Regions from separate parts of the Homo sapiens genome. Here regions 1, 3, 4 and 5 are each linked to region 2. The links are contacts of gene promoters, found by promoter capture Hi-C in blood cells and fetal thymus (Javierre and others, 2016). All regions are on one chromosome and are shown on one strand. The core of a region is centred on a gene start or on the middle of the fragment in contact, and the rest is flanking DNA. Distances in the headings are between cores, read along the strand shown.

Evidence for each region. Contacts are between HindIII fragments. The CHiCAGO score rates a contact against its expected background, and 5 or more counts as called.
Region 1: a contact is called between the fragment with the promoter of MTIF2 here and the fragment with the promoter of ACYP2 in region 2, in 8 of 17 cell types (total CD4 T cells, fetal thymus, total B cells and 5 more). The highest score is 10.2, in total CD4 T cells.
Region 3: a contact is called between the fragment with the promoter of CCDC88A here and the fragment with the promoter of ACYP2 in region 2, in 1 of 17 cell types (monocytes). The highest score is 5.6, in monocytes.
Region 4: the fragment with the promoter of CLHC1 here is called in contact with the fragment with the promoter of ACYP2 in region 2 in 16 of 17 cell types (fetal thymus, total CD4 T cells, total B cells and 13 more); the score reaches 33.3 in fetal thymus.
Region 5: the fragment with the promoter of CFAP36 here is called in contact with the fragment with the promoter of ACYP2 in region 2 in 8 of 17 cell types (fetal thymus, neutrophils, monocytes and 5 more); the score reaches 9.4 in fetal thymus.

The regions. Positions count from the first base shown.
Region 1 is chr2:55,267,795-55,270,575 of GRCh38, forward strand. MTIF2 (mitochondrial translational initiation factor 2) reads right to left here and starts at 1,437. Exons shown (of 16, transcript NM_002453.3): 1 at 1,375-1,437; 2 at 784-945. RefSeq lists enhancers at 1,380-1,529, 1,475-2,298. The HindIII fragment of the contact is 1,895 bases long and covers 1,008-2,781 here.
Region 2 is chr2:54,114,225-54,117,052 of GRCh38, forward strand. It overlaps ACYP2 (acylphosphatase 2), which reads left to right and starts at 1,391. Exons shown (of 4, transcript NM_138448.4): 1 at 1,391-1,532. The coding sequence starts at 1,475. RefSeq lists silencers at 1,220-1,289, 1,780-1,839. The HindIII fragment of the contact is 9,756 bases long and covers 1-2,828 here.
Region 3 is chr2:55,418,504-55,421,203 of GRCh38, forward strand. It overlaps CCDC88A (coiled-coil domain containing 88A), which reads right to left and starts at 1,353. Exons shown (of 33, transcript NM_001365480.1): 1 at 514-1,353; 2 at 313-413. The coding sequence starts at 576. RefSeq lists silencers at 1,254-1,323, 1,354-1,403, 1,464-1,753. The HindIII fragment of the contact is 14,096 bases long and covers 1-2,700 here.
Region 4 is chr2:55,230,939-55,233,638 of GRCh38, forward strand. It overlaps CLHC1 (clathrin heavy chain linker domain containing 1), which reads right to left and starts at 1,355. Exons shown (of 13, transcript NM_152385.4): 1 at 1,285-1,355. It overlaps RPS27A (ribosomal protein S27a), which reads left to right and starts at 1,750. Exons shown (of 6, transcript NM_002954.6): 1 at 1,750-1,770; 2 at 1,870-1,934; 3 at 2,425-2,479. The coding sequence starts at 1,887. RefSeq lists enhancers at 1,400-1,829, 1,850-2,029. The HindIII fragment of the contact is 5,653 bases long and covers 1-2,053 here.
Region 5 is chr2:55,518,468-55,521,167 of GRCh38, forward strand. It overlaps CFAP36 (cilia and flagella associated protein 36), which reads left to right and starts at 1,251. Exons shown (of 10, transcript NM_080667.7): 1 at 1,251-1,449. The coding sequence starts at 1,335. RefSeq lists enhancers at 552-601, 1,782-2,031. The HindIII fragment of the contact is 7,670 bases long and covers 1-2,700 here.

The DNA.
Region 1 (2,781 bases), core at 187-2,686, 1.2 Mb after region 2:
TTATAAGTTAAAAATATTCACAAGTCATTAACTTGTTTACCTTCGGACAATTATGAGGTTGTGTATGTGTGTGTAATCGAGCAAGCATTTTACCTTAAAAGGCTTATTCGAGTAAAGATCAAGGAAAAATCTAACTTAATGCCAACGAAATAAACACATTAAGATTTAGAAATTCAGGCTGGGCGTGATGGCTCATGCCTGTAATCCTAGCACTTTGGGAGGTCGAGGCGGGCGGATCACCTGAGGTCAGGAGTTCGAGACCAGCCTGGCCAACATGGTGAAACCCCCTCTCTACTAAAAGTACAAAAATTAGCCGGGTACGGTGGCGGGCGCCTGTAATCCCAGCGACTTGGGAGGCTGAGGCAGGAGAATCGCTTGAACCCAGGAGGCAGAGACTGCAGTGAGCCGAGATCAGGCCACTGCACTCCAGCCTGGGCGACAGTGAGACTCTGTCTAAAGAAAAAAAAAAGAAGATTTGGAAATTCATTCAATAGTATTTACACACATTAAATACTTCTAAGAATGGCACATGGAAAATATCTTATTTACGTTTGTGCCCCTGGACCAAGAAGTAGAGTGCTCAGGTAACACAGGATTCCTTGAGAAAATAATTTTTAAATCAGTATGAAACCAGATTTGAGAAGAGCACAGATTAATGGAGTGGGAGGAAGGACCCTACGAGATATTAACCAAAGCACAGATATGTAATTGAGGCAGGAACTGGAAAGACACATTGGAGGCAATAACCCAAATGTCAAAACTGGAAGGAAACTTGTCACTTACTCCAAGCTCCTCATTTTACAGAAAAGGAAACGGAAATCCAGAAGGGTCAAAAAAGCTTCTCCAATGTCATACCGCTAGTTAATGGCAGTCAAGACTAGAACCCAGACGTTCTGACTCCCAGTACGGTGTTGTTTCGCCGCTAGGATATCCTTGTCAAGGAATCTGAAAAAAGTATGTTGCAAATACGTAGTTGCGTTAGGGAAAACGTCTGAATGTGAGCTGGAAGCTTTGGAACTTACCAGAAAGGTAAAAATAAATCACTGCAGAAAAATTACGGATCTGGGGTGGCTCGCCTCAAATTGGAGCCCAGAAGGCCTTGGGCCCATGGGAGGCTGGGAAGTGAGGACCTGCACCCACAGCCGCGCGCGAGGAGGGGAAGCCGGCCAGCCGCTTCCGAGAGAACAGTGCACATGCCTTCGTGAATGCCTAACGTGGGCTCACGCAGGGATTAAATGCATCTTGGAAAGGCTTCCGAACGCACAATGTTTATGAAGTTCGCGTGATTTGTGCCACTGACACGTTAGGCGAAACAACACACACCACCTGCACCGGACAACCCTGGTTAAGGGATCCTACCCACTTAACTCCTACCTACAGCCCCGGGCCCCTGGATTCTGAGCACGGGCGGAGATCACCTTCTGGACCCGGAAGAATGGTCGGTAGGTCAGTCCGTCCCCGCTACGGTCCCCGCCGGGCTTCCGGTCCCGCTGGAAAAGGTTCTTTCCGGAATTCAGAGAGTTGCTGTCGCCGCTGGGGGTGGGACTGTCTGCGGTGTCCGCGGCGGGCGTCCAGCCTGGGAGGCGCTGGTTCAACCTGTGGCTCCTCCCAGGGTCAGCCGCGCGTGGTGAATCGTTTCTGCAGGTCCCTTCCATTTCTTACTTTCCTTTCCTTTCTTTCTCTCTTTCCTTTTTTTCTTTCTGTCCCTCTCCTTTCTTTCCTTCCTTCCTTTCTTCATTTCTTCCTTCCTTTCCTCTTCCTTCCTTTCCGTTTTTCTTTCTCTTTTTTTTTTTTTTAAGAAAACTGCCTTTATTCAATTAGAAGTTGGAAAAATTAACTGGTACAGAAAAAAAGTGTAATCAGCTGGAGAAAAAGTGCCACCCATGAGAACTGATGGCTCCTCTGGGAGGGAATCTGGATACAGTGAGGATTTCTAGGAAGCAAATTACTTCTTCTCTGGGGCTATGAGAGGCCTCGGTGGTGCTTAACACTGTAGGAAACGTTAAATGGAGAATTGTGGGAGAAATGATACCTCCTTCAAAGATACGTGTTCCTAACAAGAAGGAAAAAACAAATGCAAGCGAACAGTGGCGGTAGAACCAGTTAGTATTGTGCGAACAGTACTTTCTGTTTTCTCCTAAGTCAGCTCGTGTGTATGGCATTAGGAGTAATAGAGCCAGAGTGCCTGGTTTCCTATCCCAGCTCATTCCTAGTGTGTGGTTGGGAATGTTTTGTCAACTGTCCATGTCCCAGTTTGTTCATCTACATTATAGTAATGACAGTAGCTAGTTCACAGGATTGTAATAAGGTTTTTGTTGTGTTTTTGTTTCTATTTGTTTTTGAGATGGAGTTTCGCTCTTGTTGCCCAGGCCGGAGTGCAATGGCACGATCTCAGCTCACCGCAACCTCTGCCTCCCGGGTTCAAGCGATTCTCCTGCCTCAGCCTCCCGAGTAGCTGGGATTACAGGCATGTGCCACCACTCCTGGCTAATTTTGTGTTTCTTGTAGAGACAGGGTTTTTCCATGTTGGTCAGGCTGGTCTCGAATTCCCTATTTCAGATGATCCGCCCACATCGGCCTCCCAAAGTGCTGGGATGACAGGCGTTAGCCACCTCTCCCAGACTGTTTTTTGTTTTTTTTGAGACAGTGTCACTCTGTCGCCCAAGCTGGAGCACAATGGCGCGATCTCGGCTCATTGCAACCAAACTCCGCTTCCTGGGTTCAAGTGATTCTCCCGCCTCAGCCTCCCGCGTAGCTGAGATTACAGGGGCACATCACCAT
Region 2 (2,828 bases), core at 141-2,640:
AATTCTAGAAGGTGGCAGATTATCAATAGCTGTATCCAGATCCTTTGGAGTGGTGGATGGTTTTATATTAAAACTTGGTAATAGCTCACCAGGAAATAAAATTCAGCCTTAACCTTCTAGGCAATTGGGATGTTGCTGAGAATAATCAAGACAATCAAAAAAAAAAAAAAAAAAAAAGGTCGGGTGTGGTGGCTCACACCTGTAATCCCAGCACTTTGGGAGGCCGAGGCAGGTGGATCACCTGAGGTCAGGAGTTTGAGACTAGCCTGGACAACATGGTGAAACCCCGTCTCCACTAAAAATACAAAAATTAGCTGGGTGAGGTGGCGCATGCCTGTAATCCCAGCTACTTGGAAGGCTGAGGCAGGACAATTTCTTGAACCTGGGAGGTGGAGGCTGCTGTGAGCTGAGATTGCACTACTGCACTCCAGTCTGGGAGACAAGAGCGAAACTCCGTCTCAAAACAACAGCAACAAACCCACACCAAAAAAACTGTATGAACAGCAGACAAGATGACTACAGTGTTTTTCTTTTGTCTGTTTCCACTAGCATAAAAGACTTCATATTTTTAAAAAGTTTCTTATCCCAGAAAATATCACAATCCGTTTAGAATACGAGTTCAGGCTCAATTCCTTCCTGACTGTACAGAAGAGCTCAAGATGTTGCAGACCTTATCTTAAAAGCTGGCTTGGTAGTCACCTAAACATTTCATAAATAATTTACTAACTCTCAAAACACTAAACACGCAGGCCCTTGATTTCAAAAGCCAATCTTGCTGGGATGGAGTGGGGTGGGGGACCTGGGATGGGGGATGAAAGGGGTTGGAAATGGGGAGATATTGGTCAAAGGGTACAAAGTTTCAGTTAGTGTGAATAATAAGTTCTGAAGATCTGTTGTCTAACATGGTGACTGCGATAAATGTATTGTGTCCTTAAAAATTGATGAGAGTAGATCTTAAATGTTCTCTTCATTAAAAAATGGTGCAATGGATACGTTAATTTCATTGATGTAATCATTTCACAATGCATACATATGTCAAAACATCACCTTGTACACCACAAATATACCCAACTTTTATTTGTCAATTACACTTTAATAAAGCTGGGGGAAGCCACTCTTTTTTTGGGCACAGCATCCGGCTTTTATTTACTAACTTTGAGAACAGAGTACCTTGATCAATTAAATGGTAGGGAGCGCTGTGGAGACAGCATCCTCCCCAGTCCGGGAAGAGAGGCCTAGGATGCCTGGGGCCCAGCGGCCTCTTCCCTCCTGGCGTCCCCGGCTGCCCTCGCTCCCAGGCCCCGCAGTCTCATTTGCCGCTTCCGACGCGTGACCCCGGCGCGCTAGCGTCCGGGACCGGTGACAGGCGCGGGGTGCGCCAAGCAGTCCCATGTGTCCCCTCCCTCTCGCAGCCGCCGCAGTCGCTGCGCCCCGAGCCCCTCTCCGGCTCCTCAACAGAGGGCTCGCCGCCGCCATGTCTACCGCCCAGTCACTCAAATCCGTGGACTACGAGGTGTTCGGAAGAGTGCAGGGTAGGAGGCCCCTCTACGGTGGGAGATCAAAAAGGTTATGGGAGGAAGGGGAGAAAGCTGTGAGAAGCGCCTCCCACCTAAAGTATGCCTTTTCCCGTTGTGGCTGGGACTTCCGCTCCGCCATGACACAGCAGCGGCGGCGGGGAGGGAGGCGAAACGCGCATGCGCCCGAGGACTTGGACGGGCGGAAGTACGGGAATGGGGAGGGAAGTGGGGGAGCGGGAGAGGAGGGGTCAGGGGACTGCTGAGGACCAGAAGTGGGCGGCTGCTGGGTGCGGGAGTAAGCGGCACGGGGGAATGTTGAAGTTGGGTAGGAAAAGAAGAGGGTCTTTTAACTAGTGGTCTCGTTGCTTGCCACTGAAGCTACCTGGGCTTGACTTGAGTTTTAGGAAGGACACTTAGATGGTTTAAGGTTAATTTTTCAGAGGTCAAACCTTTTTTTAGACCTCTTTGTAGCTCTTAAAAGAATGAAATTGTTATCTAATTTTTGTTTCATCCTAAGTTTAAGTAGTTGCCAAGTTTGTAATGTCTGGCTTGTTGAAAATATTGATATTTATAAATGAAAATATTAAGTCACTCTGAGATTTATGCAATGGAATATAAATAGGGTAGTGATTTAACATCCACCATCTTCATTTAAAATAAAACTCTTCAACAATGGGAAATTTTACTCATTTCTTTTCCTCTTTGAATTTGATTTTCATTTCACTTTTCCCACCGAATTACCCCATTGTTTTGCTTGAGGGTTTTTTTTTTTTTTTTGCTCACCCTATCATACTTTTCTGCAATATGTATATGTACATATATGCACATGTATGAATAAGTGTAATGCTTTTTCTTAATTTCCTTTGACAATAAGGCTCTCTTAGAAACAAATGCTGGTTCTTTGGTGCCAAAAAGAAGAACTAGCGCTCAAAGAATTTTCTCAGCAAGGCAATTTTACCTCTATAGAAGGGTGCGACTCGCGGATGAAGCAATGGCAACGGCACACCTGAACAGGGGAGGGGAAGGGGTTCTTATTCCTGATGCAGGTAGCCTCTACTGCTGTGTCTTTCCCCTACTGGCTAGGGTTGGACCGCACAGTCTAAGCTAATTCCGACTGGCTATTTTAAAGAGCAGGCGTACGAGCTCAAGTGGCGGGGTGAATAATTTGGCAGGAAGGGTGGTTACAGAACAGGTGACTCAGGATGATTCAGGTCAGAGCAGGTGACCAGGGGTGACTCAGGATGGAGCAGGTGACCAGAGGAATAGAGGTGAACTACTGATTAGAACTGGTGGAAAAGGTTGTTTACTGAA
Region 3 (2,700 bases), core at 103-2,602, 1.3 Mb after region 2:
ATTTTCTCTCTTATTTTACCAAATTATCAAAGAATACACAATGTGGCTTGGATTTCAGTACTGAAGACAAGTGACAATACATGGTTGACAGAATGAAAAACTAAAGTTTCACAATTTTAACAGGTAAAATATCTAGGTTGTGATAATGGGCTGAGCCCATAACATTAGCATTCCTTTCAAGATCCAATTCTTAAACCACCTGAATATTTCTGGCCAATGAACCAAATTAGGGGCTTAAAACATCGTGTCTCAAAGTTCACCATATGCTATTTCTCAAAGAAAACGTTACCTAGGAAAGAAGGAAGAACTTACATTTGGAGCATGACCTGGTTCAAGAATACCCCATCCACCAAAGCCACATATTCATCAAGGTTGGTCCCATTTCCTGCGGCCAGAGGTCCAAACGTTTTAACCTAGAACAAACAGAAGGATCACCACGACATGAACGCCCACCTCCATCTCTGCAGCCACAAATAACTCAGCAAAATATACAATAAAGGACACCCCACTTACCCAAGTGACCAAAGGGCTGGTCATGAACTGCTCCAGAAGGGGAGTAAAAATTTCGTTCTCCATTTTACAGAGTATGTATTTGAAAAAAGGAACTACCACAAAAATACGCCTAGGGAATTGGTCACTAAACGTGGAAGTAAGTAGAAATCAATGAAAGTCCATTTCGGCAAGGGAGAAAAATCCCATCGTGGAGGAGGGGGGCACTCTCCCTCCTCAAAAAACACCCCAGAGTGAAACGAGCCGAAATCCCAAGAAGTGGCTTCGACGACGGACACCACGAGCAGCAGCCTGCGCTGGAAATGTCTGTACCGGGCGAGGAGGGGCAGAGAAAAGGCATCTGGAGGAGGAGGAAGGGAAAGGGGGCTGGAACCCAAGACAAAAAGCCCGTCAAGGTTGTCCAGCTCCTGGAGGATCCAGACCAGCGAAACTGCTCCCAATGAATCAATCCCAACGGGGGCTAAATGAAATACGTTAAACAGAGACCACGTTAAGGATACCGAGGCGCCACCAGACTCGACCTCGGCGTTCCGACCTCTACACGTTCCACCCACCGATGGGCATGGAGCCGCTTTCGACCCGCGGAGCCTCCACTGCCCGCAGCCCCTCAGTACCAACAGGCAGGGCTCGCCCCTTCCCCCCGAGCAGACACCATTCCTCCGCCGCCCTCAAGCCTCGCCTCCAGCCCCCTTCCCCTCCCGGGGGTGGGGGCTTGAATGTGTGTCCCTAACCCCCCAGCTTCCTAAGCCCTGCCAGCCTTTCAGCGCGTCTCTGGGAATCCCTGGCACAAAATCACCGCCGCGCTCCAGCCTTCTCCGCCCTCTATGGAGAAGCCGGAGTAACGGCCTCAGAACCGCAGTGCCGCATCACACCCCACCCCTCGCCGCCCGCCAGCGCCGCCCGCCAATGCCGGGGGCCGCCGTCAAAGGGAGCGCGCTGCTCCCTCCGCGCCGATATCCTTCCGCCGACTCCCCGCCCCTCCCGTGCAGCTGCCTCTGGATTGTGGGAGAAGAAAACCGCTGCATGAGCGCGCTCCCGAGCGAGCGCGCCCCCGGGCTAGCCTCGCCGCCGCCCAGATCCTGGCGGCGGGCGCGGGCTCGGGCGTGGGCGCGCGCTCGCTGCAGCTGCTGCGGAGACAACCCGCTCCTCGGTTGCGCCCAGGACGGTTGCCTGGTGGGCGGGGACAGGGAAGGCAGAGCAAGGGGTCTGTCTGCTCGCTCGCTCATGCCTAATTATGGTTTATTTCCTCCCCGAGTGACTTCTTTGATACGTGAAGGAAGGGGAAAGAAATCCTTCTCTTATAAACATGAGGGATGCAGACAGCCTTTTTCGGACAGTTTGATGTGTTCTGTAAAGCATGCCTTCTCCCCAGCAAAATGGAATAGGAAAACTCACTGCAGCAAATGGCAGAGGGACTTGAGCCACAACTTGGTGGGGGTTTTTTTCTCCTTTTTGTTTTCTTCCAAATGCAGTCCACTAACGCATGAATGTTCTTCAAAGTTGCAAGTGACATACAGTAAGATTTTTTAAAAACCAGAGCTGTCTGTCAGCACGTTGGTATTCCCTGACTGGAGCAAACATGACTCAGACATTGTTTTTTGGTTTTGTTTTGTTTTTTACTATTTGGGCATGGGTCGGGGGAAACCCAAGCAAAATCAAGAGCTACAAAGAAGAAACATTTAGAAGTCATCCAAGTTGGGTGACAAATAAACAGATTACATATTTGTCATAAATCTCCATGCCACGTACGACTGGGACCTTGAAATAATTTTAAGTTCCCTGGCAAAATCAAATGCTACTCCTCATTTCAAAGGAAAATAAAGACCTTTTTCCCGGGGTAAAATGGGCATATAGAACGCAATCTTTTTTTGATAAAAGATAATATTATAGTTTTATAATGTGTGCTATGTTTACATTACATAAATATTTACACGGAGTATATATTTTAAATTAGCAGTAAAAATGTTTTTGTCATAACACAGTTAAGAAAGAGCAGAATTTCTTAATTGGGTAGTTGAGAACCTGGACTCTGAAGTCTTCCTGCCTGGTTCCAATATGCACCAGCTGTGTGAGCCTACGCACGTTATTGAGTCTCTTTGTGCTTCGATTCCGTCACGTGTAAAGCAGGGCTAATAATAGGGTTAAATGAAATGGCAGCTTATAGTTAAGTGTTCTATAAATGTCATTAAT
Region 4 (2,700 bases), core at 105-2,604, 1.1 Mb after region 2:
CGGACTAGGGGATGAAAAATGTTCCAGGAGGCAGGGCGTGGTGGCTCACGCCTGTAATCTCACCACTTTGGGAGGCCAAGGAGGATGGATCATTTGAGGTCAGGAGCTAGAGAACAGCCTGGCCAACATGGTGAAACCCCATCTCTACTAAAAATACAAAAATTAGCCGGGTGTGGTGGTGGGCGCCTGTAATCCCAGCTACTCGGGAGGCTGAGGCAGAAGAATTGCTTGAACCTGGGAGGCGGAGTTTACAGTGAGCCGAGACCGCGCCACTGCACTCCAGCCTGGGCAACAGAGCGAAATTCCGTCTCACGAAAAAAAAAAAAAAAAGTTCCAGGAAGAATAAACGACTGGATTCTTCAGAAATGCCAAAACACGGGAGGGCATAGGTCAGGAAATTAAATTAGCTTCATTTACTAAAATGTAGAGTAATGGGTTTAGCAGATTAGGTTGTAAGGAAGGCAGAGGCTGAATGTCATTCTAAGAAATTTGAATTGTATCCTGAAGGTGAGGTATAAAATAATAACACACATTTACCTTTCAGAATGAATATTTTGGAGGCAATAGTGAAGGTGGGTTAGAAAGGAGGAAAGACTGGAGAGAGATAAGGAGTTAGATTCGGAACCCCTACAAGAGAAAATTAAGGTCTGAATTTGGGGATGGGGTCGCAGAGGGCAGAGGATGAAGAAATAAATACAGAAGACATTAGAAAGGACTCTGGTTTGTGGAGTGGAGAAAGGACAGGGAGAACTTGCTTCTAATTGGCCTCCTTGCCGGAAGAAGCACCCCATACATACTCCAAAAACTTCCTCTCAGATCCAAGACTCCCAATGCCCAAATTTGGAAATTCTACAACTAAATAACCATTCTGCAGGTTTCTTTTCCGTACGGCTTCACTTTAAAATTTGAAAACTCCTGAGATTTTTCAACATATTAAAGCGTGTCACACTAAGGAGTGACACACAAGACCCAGACTCTTCCCTAGGCTGGGAGAGACTCGGCGGTTGAAAGCAGGGAGGCGCTACAGGAGAGAAAGGGCTGAACCCCCGCTTCCGCAGATTTCACCTATTTTTCAGTTTGCCTGGAGCAGGCCACGCAAATTCCCTTCCCTTGAAGGCCCAAGGAGCGTCTGGTAGATTGCTGATTCTCTGCCCATCACCGCTTCTGGAAGTGAGTGAAGGACACCTTTCGTGCCCCGCACCCTTTGCCCCCCGCTTAACATTTGCTCTAGTCACTTCCGGCCCGTTCCCACGCTCCGGAAACCATTATTCCGCTTCATCCTACCTCCAGTCCTCACCTGAGTCCTTTTCTCCAAACACCGACTTCAGTGCTTAGAGATAGTAACTAGGGAATCTGGGAGGTGGAACTGCATCTTGGGACAAGTAGTCCAAGGTAGAAGAAAGCAGTGGAGAACTACAGTTCCCAGAATGCACTTCCATTTCCTACCTCTTCCCCAAGAGGCCCCCCTCGACCTCCTTTTAAAAATTCTCTTAGCCACGTTGATTGTACGGGAAAAGCCTTTTTAAAACATCTTTTACGTTGCTTAAACCTACAGTTTCGAAAGCATTCCGAAGGCTAAAGTGAGAAATAAGCCCAGGCTAGGGAGAGGAGAAACGAAGTTCACGTCCTAGTCTGGCACCGGGTTGGATTGTCGCTGGGACGGCAGTCAGGCATTTGGTGTGGTCGCCTAAGGGGTGGGTCCTTCGGCGGGAGCTCCGGGAAACCCCGTGGGCCTGCGCGGCGTTCTTCCTTTTCGATCCGCCATCTGCGGTGGGTGTCTGCACTTCGGCTGCTCTCGGGTTAGCACCCTATGGTGCCTTCTCTTGTGATCCCTGACCTAACCTGTCTCTTCCTTTTCCTCAACCTCAGGTGGAGCCGCCACCAAAATGCAGATTTTCGTGAAAACCCTTACGGGGAAGACCATCACCCTCGAGGTACGGGCCGGGTGGTCATGAGGAAGCCAAGGTCCGAATAAGGTCCTGAGGTGGATTTTAGGACCGGCGCTGCTTTCCATGTCTTAGACCATGATTCCGAATTTGGGTTCTAAAACTTAAGCTTTGAAATGAGTACCTTTTGCTGAGCAACGACCTAGAGGTGATTTTCGGTGGCCAAAGGCTGGACCTGTCTCCTCTCGAGGGGTTCCAGCTAGTTAGTTAAAACGGAGGAGCTGCGGTGGGGAAGGAGACGCTCTGCCCGCCGGGTGCGAGCACGTGTGGCCCTGCGGCCGCCGCCCGCTCTGGGCTGGGGAGATGAAGGTGCTTTCCGGTAGCCGACTTGGGAGGTTGCCCACTGGGTGGGTAATAGGTCTCTCGAGTAGGTCTCAGCCCTGTCGCTGGTTCGGTTCAGTGGTAATTGTCAAACTAAATGAGTTCTGCTGTAGTTCCTTAATGTGTAACCAACATGCTTTCACTTTAACACTCATAGGTTGAACCCTCGGATACGATAGAAAATGTAAAGGCCAAGATCCAGGATAAGGAAGGCAAGTAGTATTTTGTAGTTAAGAAAACTTAACCTGCGGAGACTTCGGCCTACCTGTAGGTGCTAGACATACCTGCTCTTGGTGATGGGGGAAGGGGTCAGATTGACAAAGCGAAATACTTGTGGAATAACACAATAGACATTGGTGATCGGGGAGCACAGTACCTAGATTGGAATCCTTGAGGTGTATTTCACTTGCGTGAATTTGGACACTTATTTATT
Region 5 (2,700 bases), core at 1-2,500, 1.4 Mb after region 2:
AAAAAAAAAAAAAAAGGCACATAATGATCATCTTCATGCATTCAGGTAAGATACTGTGTGCACATTCACAAAATAAAAATAGACTAAAGGATGGTTTATGGAATACTATGCAGTTGCAAAGAAAGCACAAATTTATATTTTTAAAAGATAAAGATATAAGAAAAAAATTCATAACTGTACATATAATCCTATTTATGTAAAAAATATATATATATATATGGTTGTCTGAAGATATTTTGGGACTCCAAACACCTTCACAATGACCACTGAAGACCCCATTCCACAATGGACTCCACCTAAATGCTGAGTTGGAGTTATAATAAGATTTGGTTACCAAGGCATTTATTTAAGTGAGTATTAACTTTGCTCTTGCCCTTGAAAAGCTCCTAATTCTAGTTATCTTTATCCAAGCGTAAGAGATTAAAGACCCGCCTGAAGATACAGATGCAAACTGACCGTAAGACAATCAGCGAGTCTCACACAGCTCGGCTTTGTATTTTCAGACAACCCTTTAATTACAAACGCCTCTGGGCCAATGGTCTGAAAATGGTTGGGACTGAGGTGCTGGGGATACAATGATGAACTGCAGCCGCTGAAGCCCTGTCAGGTGGAGACCCGGTTACCTCAGACCCTCACTGAGCCTTTTCTTTTTTCTTTTCTTTCTTCCTGTTTTTCTTTTGAGACGCAGTCTCCCAGGCTGCAGTGCAGTGGCTCACTGCAACCTCGGCTTCCCGGGTTCAAGCGATTCTCCTGCCTCAGCCTCCCGAGTACCTGGGATTACAGGCGGCGCCACCACGCCAGGCTAATTTTTGTATTTTTGGTAGAGACGAGGTTTCACCATGTTGGCCAAGCTGGTCTCGACCTCCTGACCTCAGGTGATCCGCAAGCCTCGGCCTCCCAAAGTGCTGGAATTACAGGCGTGAGCCACCGCGCCCGTCTACTGCGCGTTTTCTAAACCTTGGCTCCTACGCATTTATCAGAAGAGAGAGCGCAATCTGTCTATGACTTCCAGCCAATAGCTACACTTCTTTTCTCAGCCCTCGTCCACTGTTCTTTTTTAACCAATCAGAAACGTTTTTCAAACGTTTGCCCTCCCCGCTAAGTGCGCAGGCTCCTGGAAAGTTGTCTTCACTTCCGGGCCGCGGTCTAGGGCGGCTACGTGTGTTGCCATAGCGACCATTTTGCATTAACTGGTTGGTAGCTTCTATCCTGGGGGCTGAGCGACTGCGGGCCAGCTCTTCCCCTACTCCCTCTCGGCTCCTTGTGGCCCAAAGGCCTAACCGGGGTCCGGCGGTCTGGCCTAGGGATCTTCCCCGTTGCCCCTTTGGGGCGGGATGGCTGCGGAAGAAGAAGACGAGGTGGAGTGGGTAGTGGAGAGCATCGCGGGGTTCCTGCGAGGCCCAGACTGGTCCATCCCCATCTTGGACTTTGTGGAACAGAAATGTGAAGGTAAAAACCAGAGCCCGAACCGACAATCCTTTTCTCCTCTCTCACACCAGCGGCGGGCAGGGGGTTGGTAACCACAAGCCATCTCTCGTCTCCCCGACCCCCTGTCTCCACCCCTGTCGCAAGGTCTCGTTCCCCTCACCACCTTCTCCACCCGCGTCATCAGGTTTAGAGCTGGTTGTGTGGGAGGAATTCCTTTCACCCTGCCAATGTGTTCCTTCGCAGACCTGAAAACGGGGACCGAGACTCCCCTTCTCTGGGGCCGAAGCGCACGTCCGAAGAACATTAGACTTGAATCGTAAATTCGGTCTCTCACCCTGTCCCGAACGTTTCTGCCCTCGGCAGGTGGACTGTTTGGCTGGGCTTCTTCAACAGCTTTGCCAGACTTGAGAGGAGAAGCGTCGGTTTACCTGAGTTCCTTATGATCCCTAGCATTTCGCCCGGTGTAGTCAGCTTAGGAAATGAGAAATGATTTCACTCCAAACCAACAGTTAACTGCAAAGGAGGGCATGTGATAACTCCAGGAAGCCCAGAGCCGGTGATTTTGGTGGCCTGTGTTCCCCTTGGTGAGCTCTCTACTCTTCGCTATACCAAAAATTGGCGAGGTGGGGCAGGACCATTCTTGGAACAAATGAGGCGTATAGATATGGCATAATATTCCCCGTGAAGGACAGGCATCTCCGGGTTCTGAGCAGTTCTTCAGGCTTGGAGTTCTGCATTCAGTTCGTGGAGACTATTTGCAGCCCATTCGCAGAAAAGGAACCAGAAACCACGTCATATAAATGAGTGCCCAAGCGTTATTGTGGTTGTTTAATCGGGCAAGACTTTGAGGGTAGTAGTATTCATCAATTATTTGAACATCTGCTTTGTGTTGTAAGGTTGAGTAGAATAGAGCTAGGGTCAGTTGGTACAAGCTACAGGGAAACAAATTTCAGTGAAGGAAGTGTTTCATGATAGAATGTATCCAAGATGAGTTAGCCAGCCTCAGAAGGTAATGAGCTTCCCGGCTCCAGCAGTGTTTGAATGGATCTGATAGCGACTTAATAGGGTTAGAGGGATTCAGCTATTCAGCTATCAAATGGTCGGTTATCCTGGATGACCTTTTAAGACTTCTTTAAATTCCAAGATATCATGAATCTGGTAAAGATGAAATTCAGTTTGACCACTGAATCTTTTCATTACATTTTCATTGCTATAATCAATATTCAAATCGTAGTTATTAAAGTGTTATTTTTACAGGTAATTTTTTAACAA